3 separate regions of the Homo sapiens genome follow, and all the other regions are linked to region 1. The links are contacts of gene promoters, found by promoter capture Hi-C in blood cells and fetal thymus (Javierre and others, 2016). All regions are on one chromosome and are shown on one strand. Each heading gives the region's core, a stretch centred on a gene start or on the middle of the fragment in contact. The rest is flanking DNA. Distances are from core to core; before and after follow the strand shown.

Evidence for each region. Contacts are between HindIII fragments. The CHiCAGO score rates a contact against its expected background, and 5 or more counts as called.
Region 2: a contact is called between the fragment with the promoter of OR8D4 here and the fragment with the promoter of OR4D5 in region 1, in 1 of 17 cell types (neutrophils). The highest score is 7.5, in neutrophils.
Region 3: the fragment with the promoter of OR10S1 here is called in contact with the fragment with the promoter of OR4D5 in region 1 in 1 of 17 cell types (neutrophils); the score reaches 5.6 in neutrophils.

What each region holds. Positions count from the first base shown.
Region 1 is chr11:123,937,017-123,941,755 of GRCh38, forward strand. It overlaps OR4D5 (olfactory receptor family 4 subfamily D member 5), which reads left to right and starts at 2,601. Exons shown (of 1, transcript NM_001001965.1): 1 at 2,601-3,557. The coding sequence starts at 2,601. The coding sequence ends at 3,557. The HindIII fragment of the contact is 4,702 bases long and covers 2,087-4,739 here.
Region 2 is chr11:123,899,444-123,904,182 of GRCh38, forward strand. OR8D4 (olfactory receptor family 8 subfamily D member 4) reads left to right here and starts at 2,724. Exons shown (of 2, transcript NM_001005197.2): 1 at 2,724-2,814. The HindIII fragment of the contact is 7,569 bases long and covers 1,395-4,739 here.
Region 3 is chr11:123,975,687-123,980,425 of GRCh38, forward strand. OR10S1 (olfactory receptor family 10 subfamily S member 1) reads right to left here and starts at 2,095. Exons shown (of 1, transcript NM_001004474.2): 1 at 975-2,095. The coding sequence starts at 1,978. The coding sequence ends at 1,010. The HindIII fragment of the contact is 7,911 bases long and covers 1-4,739 here.

The sequences.
Region 1 (4,739 bases), core at 1,351-3,850:
AATTCTGGGATTTTTATTGATATTGCATTGAATCTATAGATCAAATTGGGAAGAACTGACATCTTGGTAATATTGAAACATCTTATGCATAAATGTGAACTATCTCTCCTATTATTTAGTTTTTGAATTTCTTTTATCAGAGTATTGTAGCCTTCCTCATATACACTTTGTAAGTATTTTGTCATATTTCTCTCCAGATTTTCAGGTGTTCATTTGCCCTGTGACCTCATGTCTCTGCTTGGTCCAAGAAAAGCCATTGACTTTCGGTTTACTCAGCTTTTTCTTGTTTTAAGGATAGGACTATTGACTTTCAAAGTCTTACATGTTGGAACCGAATCTGAAAATTCCCAATTATTTGTGTATTTTAAATACACAAATTTGGTTTTAATGTTATTAAAACTAAAGCAAAATAAATACATAGAGATGAATAAGGGAAATCAAGGAAGCATGGGTTGAGCATAACTTCTGGCAACTTCAAGTAGTTTGATGTGCTCTAGATCACAGTTTATGTGTGAAAGAGGCTACACATGTGTATTAGTCCATTCTCACACTGTTCTAAAGATACTACCTGAGACTGGGTAATTTATTTAAAAAAAAGGAGTTTTAATTGACTCACAGTTCCACAAGGCTGGAGAGGTCTCAGGAAACTTACAATCATGGTGGAAGGCAAAGGGGAAGCAAGGCATATCTTACATGGTAGCAGGTAAGAGAGAACAGGGGGACTGCCACTTTTAAACCATCAGATCTTGTGAGAACTCCTTCACTATCATGAGAACAGCATGGGGGAAACCACCCCCATGATCCAATCACCTCCCACCAGGTCCCTCATTTTACATGTGGAGATTACAATACGAGAAGAGATTTGGGTGGGGACACAGAGCCAAACCATATCAATATGTTTTGATGAAACCTAATAGATGGGCAGGTGTTGGAACACTCCTATGCAGAGTGTTACACACTTAGAGATGTATTAAATCATTGTAGCTTACTCTTTAACCCCTTAGTATTTAGCACAGTGCCTAGTAAGTAGAAGGTGCTGAATAAATGCTTACTGAATGAATGGACAAAGGAAAGAAAATATAATTGAAATCCATACTTAATATTAAGTTAAATTGAAATGACACTTCACGGTTCTATTCAGCAACATGAAGGCTTTTATTCTAGAGTTTGTTTAGTCATCTTTCTGAGTATGTTTTAAAGTACTTAAGTGTATGAAAACACCCCTTTTATTTTGAAGGTTTCCAAGGTAGCTCTGCGTTTTTAGATGGTGGTTTTAAAATTTTAATTAATATTTATAGCTTCCTCTTGCTGCTTCCCCTATGAATAAAAATTATTCTTTGGGTAATGTCTCTGAAATTAATATTGACATTCAAACGATTCGGAAGTGATTTAATATTCTTGTTGCCTTCTCCTATGTTTCCTCCGGGACTATAGTTTCTCTGGGTTTCCCAGAGCCACCAGACAGGAAGCTTTTTCTATCACGTTTTCTTATCTAATTTTAGAGAGACTAGTAGTTCTTCACTACCCTTTTAAAGTGCAGGGGGCAGTGATTTCTTTTCTTTTCTTTTTCTTTTCTTTTCTTTTTTTTTTTTTTTTTTTGACAGAGTCTCACTCCATCTCCCAGGCTGGAGTGCAGTGGCGTGATCTCAGCTCACGGCGGTATCCACCCCCAAGGTTCACGCCATTCTCCTGCCTCGGCCTGCTGCTCATCCCATTTTTCAATTTCTGAGTTTTTGAGTAGCTGGGATTACCGGTGCCCGCCATCATGCCAGGTAATTTTTGTAGTTTTATTAGAGACAGGGTTTCTCCATGTTGGCCAGGCTGGTCTCGGACTCCTGACTTCAGGTGATGCGTCCACCTCGGCCTCCCAAACTGCTGGGATTATAGGCGTGAGCCACCGCGCCCGGCCCCGGTGATTTCTATTCTGCTCCCTTACCCATGGCTTCAGTATCCTGCTAGGCCTGAAAATGTATATCCAAGATAGAGCTATATCAGAAGGCAACTGAATATTTATTCAGGGCTGTAATGGACAACTTGCACTTCCTGTTGTTTTGGGACAAATATTAGAACTCTGTCAATCCATGGAAGCTTCGTCTAAATGTCTGGCATGCAGGGATGCATCAGGTTTTCTAAATTAAGGCCATATATGGTATCAAATATTAAAGTAAAGGAGACTTTGAGGACATTTTGGTTAATTTTATAGCATAGACAAGGGAAGCGAGGCTTAAAGAACTGCAGATAATTGTTTCTGTTTACACAACTAGTTACTGGAAGAATCAAAATTCATTTTCCATTTAACACTCTCTTCTCTACATGCCATTTTCAATTTTTGAGGGCTTATTACTTCTGATTCTCATAAACCAGAAATAGTATGAGTGCTATCCTGAGTTTTATGCCTTTGGAGTTTGATATCACCAATATATGATGTTCAAATGCTTGGTGTCCTGCAGAACCACTTACAACATTCTCCTTATGGAAAATGAAAGAGTGAAGAATTTCCCAGAGGAAGCAGAGGGAATTATTTTAGAGAACTTTGCAGATCCCCTGAATAATATGTCCTTTTTTCTTAGCAGGTTCATTGACAAGGTCATACCAACCAGATGAATCCAGCAAATCATTCCCAGGTGGCAGGATTTGTTCTACTGGGGCTCTCTCAGGTTTGGGAGCTTCGGTTTGTTTTCTTCACTGTTTTCTCTGCTGTGTATTTTATGACTGTAGTGGGAAACCTTCTTATTGTGGTCATAGTGACCTCCGACCCACACCTGCACACAACCATGTATTTTCTCTTGGGCAATCTTTCTTTCCTGGACTTTTGCTACTCTTCCATCACAGCACCTAGGATGCTGGTTGACTTGCTCTCAGGCAACCCTACCATTTCCTTTGGTGGATGCCTGACTCAACTCTTCTTCTTCCACTTCATTGGAGGCATCAAGATCTTCCTGCTGACTGTCATGGCGTATGACCGCTACATTGCCATTTCCCAGCCCCTGCACTACACGCTCATTATGAATCAGACTGTCTGTGCACTCCTTATGGCAGCCTCCTGGGTGGGGGGCTTCATCCACTCCATAGTACAGATTGCATTGACTATCCAGCTGCCATTCTGTGGGCCTGACAAGCTGGACAACTTTTATTGTGATGTGCCTCAGCTGATCAAATTGGCCTGCACAGATACCTTTGTCTTAGAGCTTTTAATGGTGTCTAACAATGGCCTGGTGACCCTGATGTGTTTTCTGGTGCTTCTGGGATCGTACACAGCACTGCTAGTCATGCTCCGAAGCCACTCACGGGAGGGCCGCAGCAAGGCCCTGTCTACCTGTGCCTCTCACATTGCTGTGGTGACCTTAATCTTTGTGCCTTGCATCTACGTCTATACAAGGCCTTTTCGGACATTCCCCATGGACAAGGCCGTCTCTGTGCTATACACAATTGTCACCCCCATGCTGAATCCTGCCATCTATACCCTGAGAAACAAGGAAGTGATCATGGCCATGAAGAAGCTGTGGAGGAGGAAAAAGGACCCTATTGGTCCCCTGGAGCACAGACCCTTACATTAGCAGAGGCAGTGACCTGAGAATCTGAAAGATGCTACAGGGTATTAGCCTGCTGGATAGGACCCTCGAGGTAGATAAAATCTATGCCTACTTCTTCTCCATTGTTCTTAACCTCAATCAGGTTCTGGTGACCTGAACTATTAGCCACAATAGAAGATGGGATGAGTGTCTTAGAACTGCTTCTAAATGCCTCCCAGATAAAAAGTATCAAGTTCTATGTAGAAGTACTGTTTGGCTCAGGGGCCACTTTCCCACGTAAGAATGATGTTGGCCTTGCTGAGAAAGTTTCAACTAGTAAATCTGGTGTCTCTTTCCTGATATCACTTTTTGGACACAAAGTACATTGGAAGAGCTTAAAATATTTTTAAATTTCTTTGAGACAAGGGTTCTCTTGAAATATTGGACCCTGAGTCCCAGTGGAGACTGATTGATTGATTGACTGTTCGTCAATGAGGAAAAAGGAAATTACCTTGGGCAAATCACTTTCTTCCTCATAGTTTCCTAGGGTCACTGTTGTTGCCATCAGTGTCATCATCATCATCATATTAATAACATTTAGTTAGAACTTACTATGTTCCAGACACTGTACCAGGTGATTTACATTTATTATTTTAATTTTCTCAAAATTCTTAGGAGGTAGGTATCATCTTTACTTTAAACATGAGTCCATTACAAATTAGAGACATTAAATAACTTACTTAAGGCTACAGAGCTTGTTTTCTGGAATTCAACCCAAGTCTATACAACATCAGAGCCCAAGTGCTCAACAGTACCTAAAACGTCTTATAGATTCTAAGGATCTGTGGGTTTATGTCATCACAGATAGAGTTTATATCATCGTGAGTTATACTGACATCATAGATAGACTTGGCATTTGATCCATCTTTTAAAATATGACTTGATCATTCTCTCCCTTACAATCACTCAGAGGCTTTCCATTGCCTTTAAAAAAAAAATCCACATGACTATTATAGATAAGATGTTGTCTGACCTGGCCTCCACCCATCTCTCCAATCTCACTTCTCTAACTCCACTCTTTTCTAACCCTCTGTTTGCATTTACTTCTGTCAGTTTCTCTTTACTTCTTGAGTTTGCAAATACTCTTTGCTATCTCTGGGATGCTCTTCTCTTCATCCTTGCCTGGCAAACTGTTGCTCAATCTCAATCCTCGGTCTAAAGGTCACT
Region 2 (4,739 bases), core at 1,474-3,973, 37 kb before region 1:
GCAACAAATATCAGTTTCTTTTGCCATTTCTTCCCATGTGTGTGTGTGTATATGTGTGTACGTGTATATGTGTGTGTACATGTGTGTGTGTTTGCATAAGTGGGTCTGTAGGCAGGTGAGCAGGTCAGACATATGTAGACATATCAGGTGATATAGTGAAGGCCATCTTTAAGATTCCGTTTTCATCAAAACCAGGATTTCTTGAAAAATTCAAAAGGAGAGAAAGCAGGAACTTGATTTGCTGAGTTTGACCTAGTAAAAGAAGCCATATTCACCCTTAGGAAGGTGAGAACAGTATGGAGGCTTTCACTGAGAGCTGACTGGGCCATGTTTCTTTGCATTTTCATGGTACTTGAGGGAAGTAGAAACAAATTTAATTTTAGTATACAACTCTGGAAAATATTGCTGCACCATTAGCATTTCTTGGATAAAAGCTCTAGCAACGTACAGGGCAGAATACTAAATGTAAGCAAGGTGTCTTTGCTCCACCTACTCTTGGCTCCGTTTGGACTAAGACAGCAGTGCCTGGAGGAGCAGCAGCAAAGGCCAAGGTTGCCTGGTGGAGGCAGCTGCACACTGCTGGGTAGGGTAGAGAAGAGTTTCTTCCCAGTGGGCAGGAGGTTGTTTTCTAGGACTTATCATGGTGATAGTGAGAGTGGTAGGAGGCGGCTAATGGTCCTGTGGTTCTTCCCAAACCTAGACACTCCTACTGAGTACTCAGAAGGCCCTAGCTGAAGGGTTACAAACTAAAAATAAACAAAAGCCCAGATAGCAATAACAACAAGAAGAACAACAAAACAACCTCTTTAGATTCCCAGCTTTATACTAGCCCACCTGACTTTATACTTTTCTCATTTCTGACCAAAAACTTCCTGTACACATTGAAAGGAATCTCTAACATAACTATAAAGAGATTGCTATAGCTAAGTTAACTTTGACTTACCCACATTAACAAAGAAGACTAACATATAATCTGAACATTTCTCTTTGCCTTTGGATTATATTTCTTCATTTGCTTTTTTTTTGTTTTTTTGCAATCAGATATGCTCCATATTATATTTGTGTAGCAAATCACTAATATTTTTTAGTTTCAAAATAAACTATTTGCATAGTGAGGCAGCAATACATACACACACACACTCTCGCTTACACACATGATCATAACAGGGATTTACTTCACTAAACATTATTCATAATATGTATAATTCACAGGCTGGTAATGGGTATCTAGACTATAGCTGAAGTTTTGTGTTTTAAGCATTTGACTCCAGTAGGCCTCTATGCAATAAGCTTGCTTGGACAAGTATAAGTAGGATTGATGGTTATTTATAATATTTGATTTTAAGAATAAGCAAGAATATTGTGTGTTACATATCTGCTCTTCTAATACCATAAGCTTCCTCATTCATGACTGATTTCCCCTGGTTAAGAATTGATCTCATTTTGTTATTTATCTAGTAAGTGAAAATCCTCTCCTGTAAGTTGGCCTATTTTAATCAGCATTTCAGATCACGATCTTCTAGACAGGAGAGAACAAAGTGTTCTGATTGAACTAGATGCTGGGTAGGAATGAGGATGATGCTGAAAAAAGTAAATTCTACTCTAAGCCGGTCATTGCGATAGGCCCTAATGAATGAGAAATTGTCCCTTGTCTCAACGGCGGGGGGGCAATTCCCAAAGAGCAGGGAAGACAGGCACAAATACATGTATGGGGGGACAATGTTAAAGCAGAGGTCAGTACACTGGGAGAATAGTTAAGGGAATAGGAATGGTACCAAAGCACTTTTCCCAAGGAAATAAATTGACATTAAAACATGTTTTAATAACCATCCAATATGAATGGGGGAAGGACCATGCTTTATTTATCCTGGCTCCATCTCCAGAAATTTAGTGTCTTTGACATGGTAGACACTATTGATTATGAGATAATCTGAAGTGGTGTCACAGTTTTCCCCAAAGGCAGATCTGAATATAGCTGTTTGCCCCTGAAAATGTGGAGGCTTTAAGTGCATGTGTTATTTTAACAGAGCCACAAAAGGCTCACCCAAGGATCACCAGGCACATTCTTCCAGATGTCCTGGAAAGCCATTAGAACAGACTGGAGGGCTGGACTCAGACTCATTCCTCTGACTCTTCTTCCATCATTAGCAGACACTAGAAACACTGAATCTACTGCTTTCATCCAAGAAACACTTCAGCTATTCCCAGTGTTCTTCACATATTCCTTAGGTTTTCTACTTCTCAGTTCCTTTGCTTATGCCTTTATCTACGTCTTGAATATTCTTTCATATCCTCTCAGCTTAAATGGATCCTCCCCACCTTTGAAGGCATATTTTACAATCTACCTTTCCATGAAGATCGTCCTTATCGCTCTAGACAGTAATGACCTGTTCCATCTCTGACCTCAAAGTCTACCTACTGCTTATTATACCAAGCACTGTCTATGATGCCTCATTTGTTCAACATTTTAAAATGCAAGCCATGTGTTAGACCATGTATCTTCCCCGACTGAATGGCAAGGGGCATTAGTGTGACTAATCCATGTTAGATTCCCAAAATGATAGGCCAGTTCATGGATAGTTCTTACAAATACATAGGCTGCTGTACCTCAGGAGACAAGAAACCCTTGGGACTACTGGTCTTTATATTTCTTGACACAAAATACCTGAACTGAGAATAAAAGTCATAGCTTCTTGTTAGCTGTTGTCACTCAGACACTTAAAGAAGAAGGTAAAATCAATCCATCTCTACTCCTGAAGTGATGAGGTTAGGAGAAAGAAGAGATACTCACCTACAGTCTTCAGGAGGAAAAAGGTGAGCTTCAGAATTATGATGTTCATATTATAAGTATATTAAAATGTGTTCTGAAATCAATTCCCGATTGTCCCCATGGGTTCTCGAGCTGCATGTTTGAGGCCACTGAGTCACAGAAGTTTAGGGAAGAGGCCATAGGCATCCATCTCAGACTCATTTATGCATTGTCCAGTCACCTTACCTAAGTATCTTGTGTCTAATATATGAATTAATCTGTGAAATCACCTGCTTTAAAAATATATTTACAAATATATTTATGTGAACCTTATAATATGTAAAATACATTCACAGTTATTGTCTCATTTGATTTGCATAACAATCTTTTGAAGTATTTATTATTTTTTACAGATTAAAATATGAAGTTCAGAGAGACTTTATGAGTCAAAGGTTGCACTGTAAATCTTAGAAATGAAAATGATACTGCATCTTATAACTCAGGGTTCATGGTCTTTCTGTTACCTCTGTACTAATGGTTTCTTTCTTTAAAAGGGGACAATTCAGATTTGAAAGATTTAGGGAAAAAGATCACATTCTAGACTTCTGTTGTCCAGTAATATAGCCACTAGCCATAGGTGGCTACTGAGCATTTGAAATCTGGCCGGGTATAAAATACACTATGGATTTCAAAGATTTGTATAATAAAATAATGTAAAATATCTCATTATTTTTAAAATATGAATTATATGTTGAAATGATGTACATGTACATCATTTTGCATGTACAGTTGGCCTGTGTGTCTGTGGGTTCCACATCTGTGGATTCAACCAATGGCAGATGGAAGATTTTTTTTTAATGGGTGGTTATATCTGTACTGAATATGTACAGACATTTTTCTTGTTATTCCCTGAACAATATACTAAAAGAAATATTTACTTAGCATTTACATTATATTAGGTATTATAAGTAATCTAGAGATGATTTAAAGTATACAAAAGGATGTGCTTAGTTAGGTTACATAAAAATACGACACCATTTTAAATCAGGGACTTGAGCATTCAGGGATTTTGGTATCTGAAGGGGTCCAGGAACCAGTCTCCTATGGATATCAAGGACTGAACTGAGTTAAACAAAACATACTAGTAAAATGTATTTTATCTTTTTATTCTGACTTTTTACAAAATGAACTTCTAGGATGTTTTAAATTGCCCGTGTGTCTGCATTATATGTCTATTGGGCAATGCTGATCTAGCATTTACCTTTGCAAAATACTTTCAATAGTCATAGTTTTAATAATACTGTGAGATGCATTGAAATGTTTAAAAACACTTTTCTTATGATTTTAAATTGCTAAAAACCACCTGAGTCCTGAATGAGGTCTGAATCAATGTAGTAGATTATTTTGGTCAGAAATACAACCTCATAAATTTGTATCCCTAGGCTAGTCAAGTTTACTGTTTATCGGTTGGTTAAATAAAGTAGATGCTGGTTATCATTGCTTACTTTTGTGTGGACTAAGATGGAATGTGTATAATTTTTCTTCCTACAAATGCAAAAACAGAATACAATTTGTTGCAATAATCTATTTGACATGCACATTACACTGCCATGGAATCTGTGAGTTTTCAAATAGGTGGCAAAATACTGAAATGTAAAATTGTACACTTTCTATTCTTCATCTGAGAAGGCTTTCCTTGAGAAGATGTCTTCAAAGATGGGCTTTACATAATCAGGTAATGCTTTCTGGCACAAAATGAATCAGAAAAGTTTAGAGAAGGAAACAAGAAAGAAGATCGATGACTTCAGCTCTAGGAGAAAATAACTGAAAATAGCGCCTCTCAAATGTTAATGCACTCACAAATCATGTGAGAATCCCACTAAAATGTAGATCCTCACTCAGCAGGTGTGAGGTAGGGCCTGAGACTGTGCATTGCTAAAAAAATCTCTGAGTGATACTGCTACTACTGGTTCATAGACCACACTGTGTA
Region 3 (4,739 bases), core at 845-3,344, 38 kb after region 1:
TAGGATGCCTAGGGCATAATCTGAATTCTTTAGGTTGGCATTCAAGGACATTTTCATCTTATAGAATAGGTTAGGTGAATACAACACAACTCCTTCCTCTTGTATGGTAAGCTGGTTTAACTAAAACCTTGAGTTATCTTTTATAATTTTGAAGTCTAGAAATGCCCTTTCTTTTGTAGTTGCCCTATAAACTCAATGAAGATATTAAAACCTTGCTAATCTTTCAGAAACAATTTGAACCTTAGCTTGTATCATAAGCTCTCTTTGATTTCTTCAACCAGCTTGGTAAGAAACATGAGCGCCTATTTTACATGACACTTAATATAACTATTTTATTTAGACCTCATAATATCCTACAAAGCAATTATTTTAAATCTTACTCTTAAAAGTGGAGACTAAAACTGCAATTATGACATCTGTACAAAATTCTACAACTAGACCTGGTTGGATCAGTATTAGAATACTGGTAGGTTCAATTGACACCAAAACCCATGTTATTTCTATCTCTCAATGTGGCCTAAAGTATATACTACCATGAGTGGGAGAATAAAGAAAATGTGACTTTCTAAGTCACCTTGGACAATCACTTTTCTCCTTGTATTTTATCATTTTAAAAAATGTGGTTTCTAAGCTGGGAAATATGTATACAAAGGTTTTTTCATTGCCTTTTATATTTTTGTTTACAGTATTCTGTATGTATTTAATAAAGTTATTTCATAAAAAGTAAAACAATCATTTACTAATACAAATGAGGATACGAATAGCATTTCACATACCTCTGAACCATAGAACATAGATTTTGGAGAGACTCTAGACATCATCTAATCCAGCCTCCTCATTTTCTAGATGAAGTGTTTGCAAGGGAGAGAGTGAGGTAGACCATTTGGCCAAAGCTGGGGGAAAGTGTGTGACTGAGTTGCAACTCAGTTATTCTGATTTCCACCTGAATGATTTGAGATGTGAATAGTTGCTTTCCTGGCAGGCAAATTGTGAGTTTTGATAGCACAGACTATGGGGGTGGGCTGCCTGCTGTAGACTCTCGGAAGCTGCTGCACAAAAGCCTTTGCAGAGCATGCTTCACCTCCTTGTTCCGCAAAGTGTAAATGAATGGGTTGAGCATTGGAGTTACGATTGTGTAGAAGACAGCAGGGGCCCCAGCTCCTGCCTCACTGGAGCGAGGCTGCAGGTAGATACAGACAGGTGGCACGTAGTACAGGAGCACCCCAGTGAGCTGGGCAGTGCAGGGGGAGAAGGCCCGCTGCCGGCCCTGGGCTGTGCGGATGCGCAACACAGCTGCCACGATGAAGATGTAGGAAATAACGATGAGGATGAGGCAGCCTGCAGCCACGATGCCAATGCTGGCAAGCATGACTAGCTCATTAATGGTGGTGTCTGTACAGGCGAGCTTTAGGACAGGGGGTATGTCGCAGAAGAAGTAGGCAATGTGGCAAGGCCCACAGTAGAGCAGGCGGAAGGTGAGGGAGGTGTGGATTGCAGCGTGCGTGGCACCTATGGCCCAGGTGATTCCAGCCATTTCTGCACACATCCTTCTGTTCATGGCCACTGGGTAGTGCAGGGGTTGACAGATAGCCAGATAGCGGTCATAGGCCATGACTGTGTACAGGAAGCACTCAGTGCTGGCCAGAAAGTGGAAGCAATAAAGCTGTACGGCACAGCCCTCAAAGGAGATCACCTTCCCATCCAGAGTCAGCAGGCCTGCCATGACCTTGGGCACTGTCACTGTAGACAAACAGGCATCCAGGAAGGAGAGGTGCCCCAGGAAGTGGTACATGGGTAAGCTGAGGTGAGAGTCAGAGCCCACAGTTAGGAGGATGAGGAGATTCCCAGCCACAGTGATGCTGTAGATGAGGAGGAAGAGGAGGAAGAAGAGGCTAGAATGTTTAGCGGTGTACCTCAAACCCTCCAGGAAGAAGTGGCTCACCACAGTCTGGTTGGGGTTCTCCGTTGTCATGGTCATCTTCTCACACACAGAGCGGCTAGTCATCCCCTTTGCAACAAAACTGACATTAATGGAATAAATAGCTGTATCCCTTTCCTGAGATGTCATTATCCATCAAGCCACACCACCTTGGTCTTACCCAGTAAGCAAGAGAAAGATGTACAAGTTCATCTTACAGTTTTGTTCTGCTCTAGTCTAGTGCTTCCTTGCTGTTTATTTCTTCATAATGAATCTTTCAATACAAAATCTGCAGTTTTGGTGAGGTATATAAAGGACTGTAAGAATTATTTGCAGAAATGCACTCCCTAAATAATGACAATAAAAATATGGATTATAAATCCTACTCTCAATGAGTATTTTTTGCAAATATTCCAGAATTGTGATGCCTCTGCCCTCCTACTCTATGTACCCTGCCATGCTGTAGATGTAGAAAGGCAGGTTCTTATTGCTGTGTCATCAGGGAGATGCATCCTATTTTCAGGTGAGACTTGCCTGGAGTTTTGGTGCTATTACATCAGCCAGAAACACAGCAGCCCCACCCATTACTCAACCAGAGGAGTTCTTTGGAATTTCAGTTACCCACAATCCTCAAGTGTGTAACAATTGAGGCTTGGAGAATAGACTGAATAATTATCAGGACAATTTTTTCTATACACTTTGTGTTCTTCCTGTAAAGCTCTGTTTCAAAATTTGGGGAATTGTTTGCCTTTTCCTTTCTTGTTGAGCCTTTCCACTGGACTGTAATTGAGATTTAAAGAGTTCTCTTTGATTCTTCCATCTTTCACCTCGTTAGCCTAACAGATGTTGCATTAGGTGAAAAATTTCCTTAAACTGCTTTTTTTCCGTGTTGTCTCTTCAATTCCTGTGGATTTTACCTAAACCCACCTCTTCATATTTTACACCTAGATTTTCACAATGGTATTTTATGTCCCATCTCTTCCTTACTCCCTGATATACCAAATGATTCAGTATTCAACTTTTTTGTGCCAGTTTTCTTAAAAAAATTCGAATATATCTTTTCTTACTGTTCCTTAGTGCCTGAGATATAAAGTGTATCTCTGTCCTACATTCAGAATTATCTGTAAACTATTTCCATTATCATGAAAAAAATCTTTATCTTCTGCAATCCCCTAAGAAACTCCTGTTATCCAGGGATGCTATTTGCCTCATCTCCTCAATTTGCCATAATCTCTCTCTGATCTTGTCACAGGATCCTTAGGATGTCACTTTTCCAGACAGAAACCTCTGTGGCTGGTGGTTCCTCTGCTTGAGTTTGCTCATGGCTGCTGGGTTCTTTTCACCCACTTGGCCTGGCAGGCTGCACTTGGCTCGTGCTACCAGCCTGGATTCCATGCTTGCCAAGGGTGGGAGAGGCGAGAGGTGTGTGAGTGAGCAAGCACAGGGGTCTGGCCACTGCACACAGCCAGGCACACTTGCTGCTGTGGTGGGATGGGCAGCTCCAGGTGCCAGCAGAGGCACCAGCTTCATGTGAGGCTATAGCTGGACCAGGCATACTGCAAGTGGTTTCCATTATGGGCACCAGCATCTGGACGAGGGGAATATGGGGGCACCCAAAAGCTCAGAGATGCCAGGAACTGCAGAGCCCAAAGAGGGTATTACAGCCTGTCACAGCCCTGGCTCAGGGAGTCCTGAGGTCTGGGCTCCAAGAAGCTCTTCTTTCCTTCTCGTCACCCACAATGCAGCCAATGAGGGGGTGAGTTTGGGGGTTTGTGTTTCAGTCTGTTTGTGTTACAGCCCTTTCAGTCCCACCACCCCACTCTGACCTGCAGCTCCTGGGCTGGCCTGGCCCACCTCTGCTTCCTGTCCCATTGGGTGGCCACCCAGCACTGGCAGAGGGTGGGAGGGCTATAGTGTTACAGCAGCTCTGGCTTGGGGAGTCCCGAGGTCTGGGCCACCAGGAGGGTCACCACTTTTTACTCCCATAGTCCGGGAGCATGTCACCACCCACAGCTTGGCAAATGAGCCAGGAACATGTTACAGCACCTTTAGCTCCCCCTGTTCGGTGGGTCCCAAGTTCTCATCCTGCGTCCAGGAAGAATGAGGATACTAGAGGACAACTAGAGGGTGAGCAAGGTGCAGAGGAGCTTTATTAAGCAAGAAAACAGCTCTCAGGAGACCTGAAGTCAGTAGCTCCTTTCTGCAGGCAGGTCCCCCCAGTGAGTGAGTTTGGCTGCATCTGAGGCTTTTATGTGCTTAGAATGGAGGAAGTGCATGCTGATTGGTCCATGGGTGGCTATAGGTGGGTCTGGAAAAAGCGTCATCCAATTGGCCAAAAGGCGTCAATGAAGTTCTCACTCTGGGTTGTGGACTTTACCCAGAACTGGCACCCCAGACCCCAGGCTCCAGGCTGTCCCTGGCATGAAGGTGGGGTTTCACTGGGGACCCACCCCTCCCACCTAGGAACATGTCTGCCTCCTGCCATCCGTGATACACAGGCTGTCCAGGCCAAGGGGTGCCTGCAGGCTGGCACTGAGCCACCCTCAGCCCCTTGGCTTCCCTCCTGTGCTCCTTGGCACCCAAAGTCCAGAGGGAGACAGGGCAGCAGGGAGCTAGCTGAATGTTATTGCCTAGGTTTTCTTCGAGGGTTTCTGTGGTTTTGGGTTTCACATTTAAGTCTTTAATCCATCTTGAGTTAATTTTTGTATAAAGTGTAAGGAAGGGGTCCAGTTTCTGTTTTCTGCATGTGGCTAGCCAGTTTTCCCAGCACCATTTATGAAATAGGGAATATTTTCCCCACTGCTTGTTTTTGTCGGGTTTG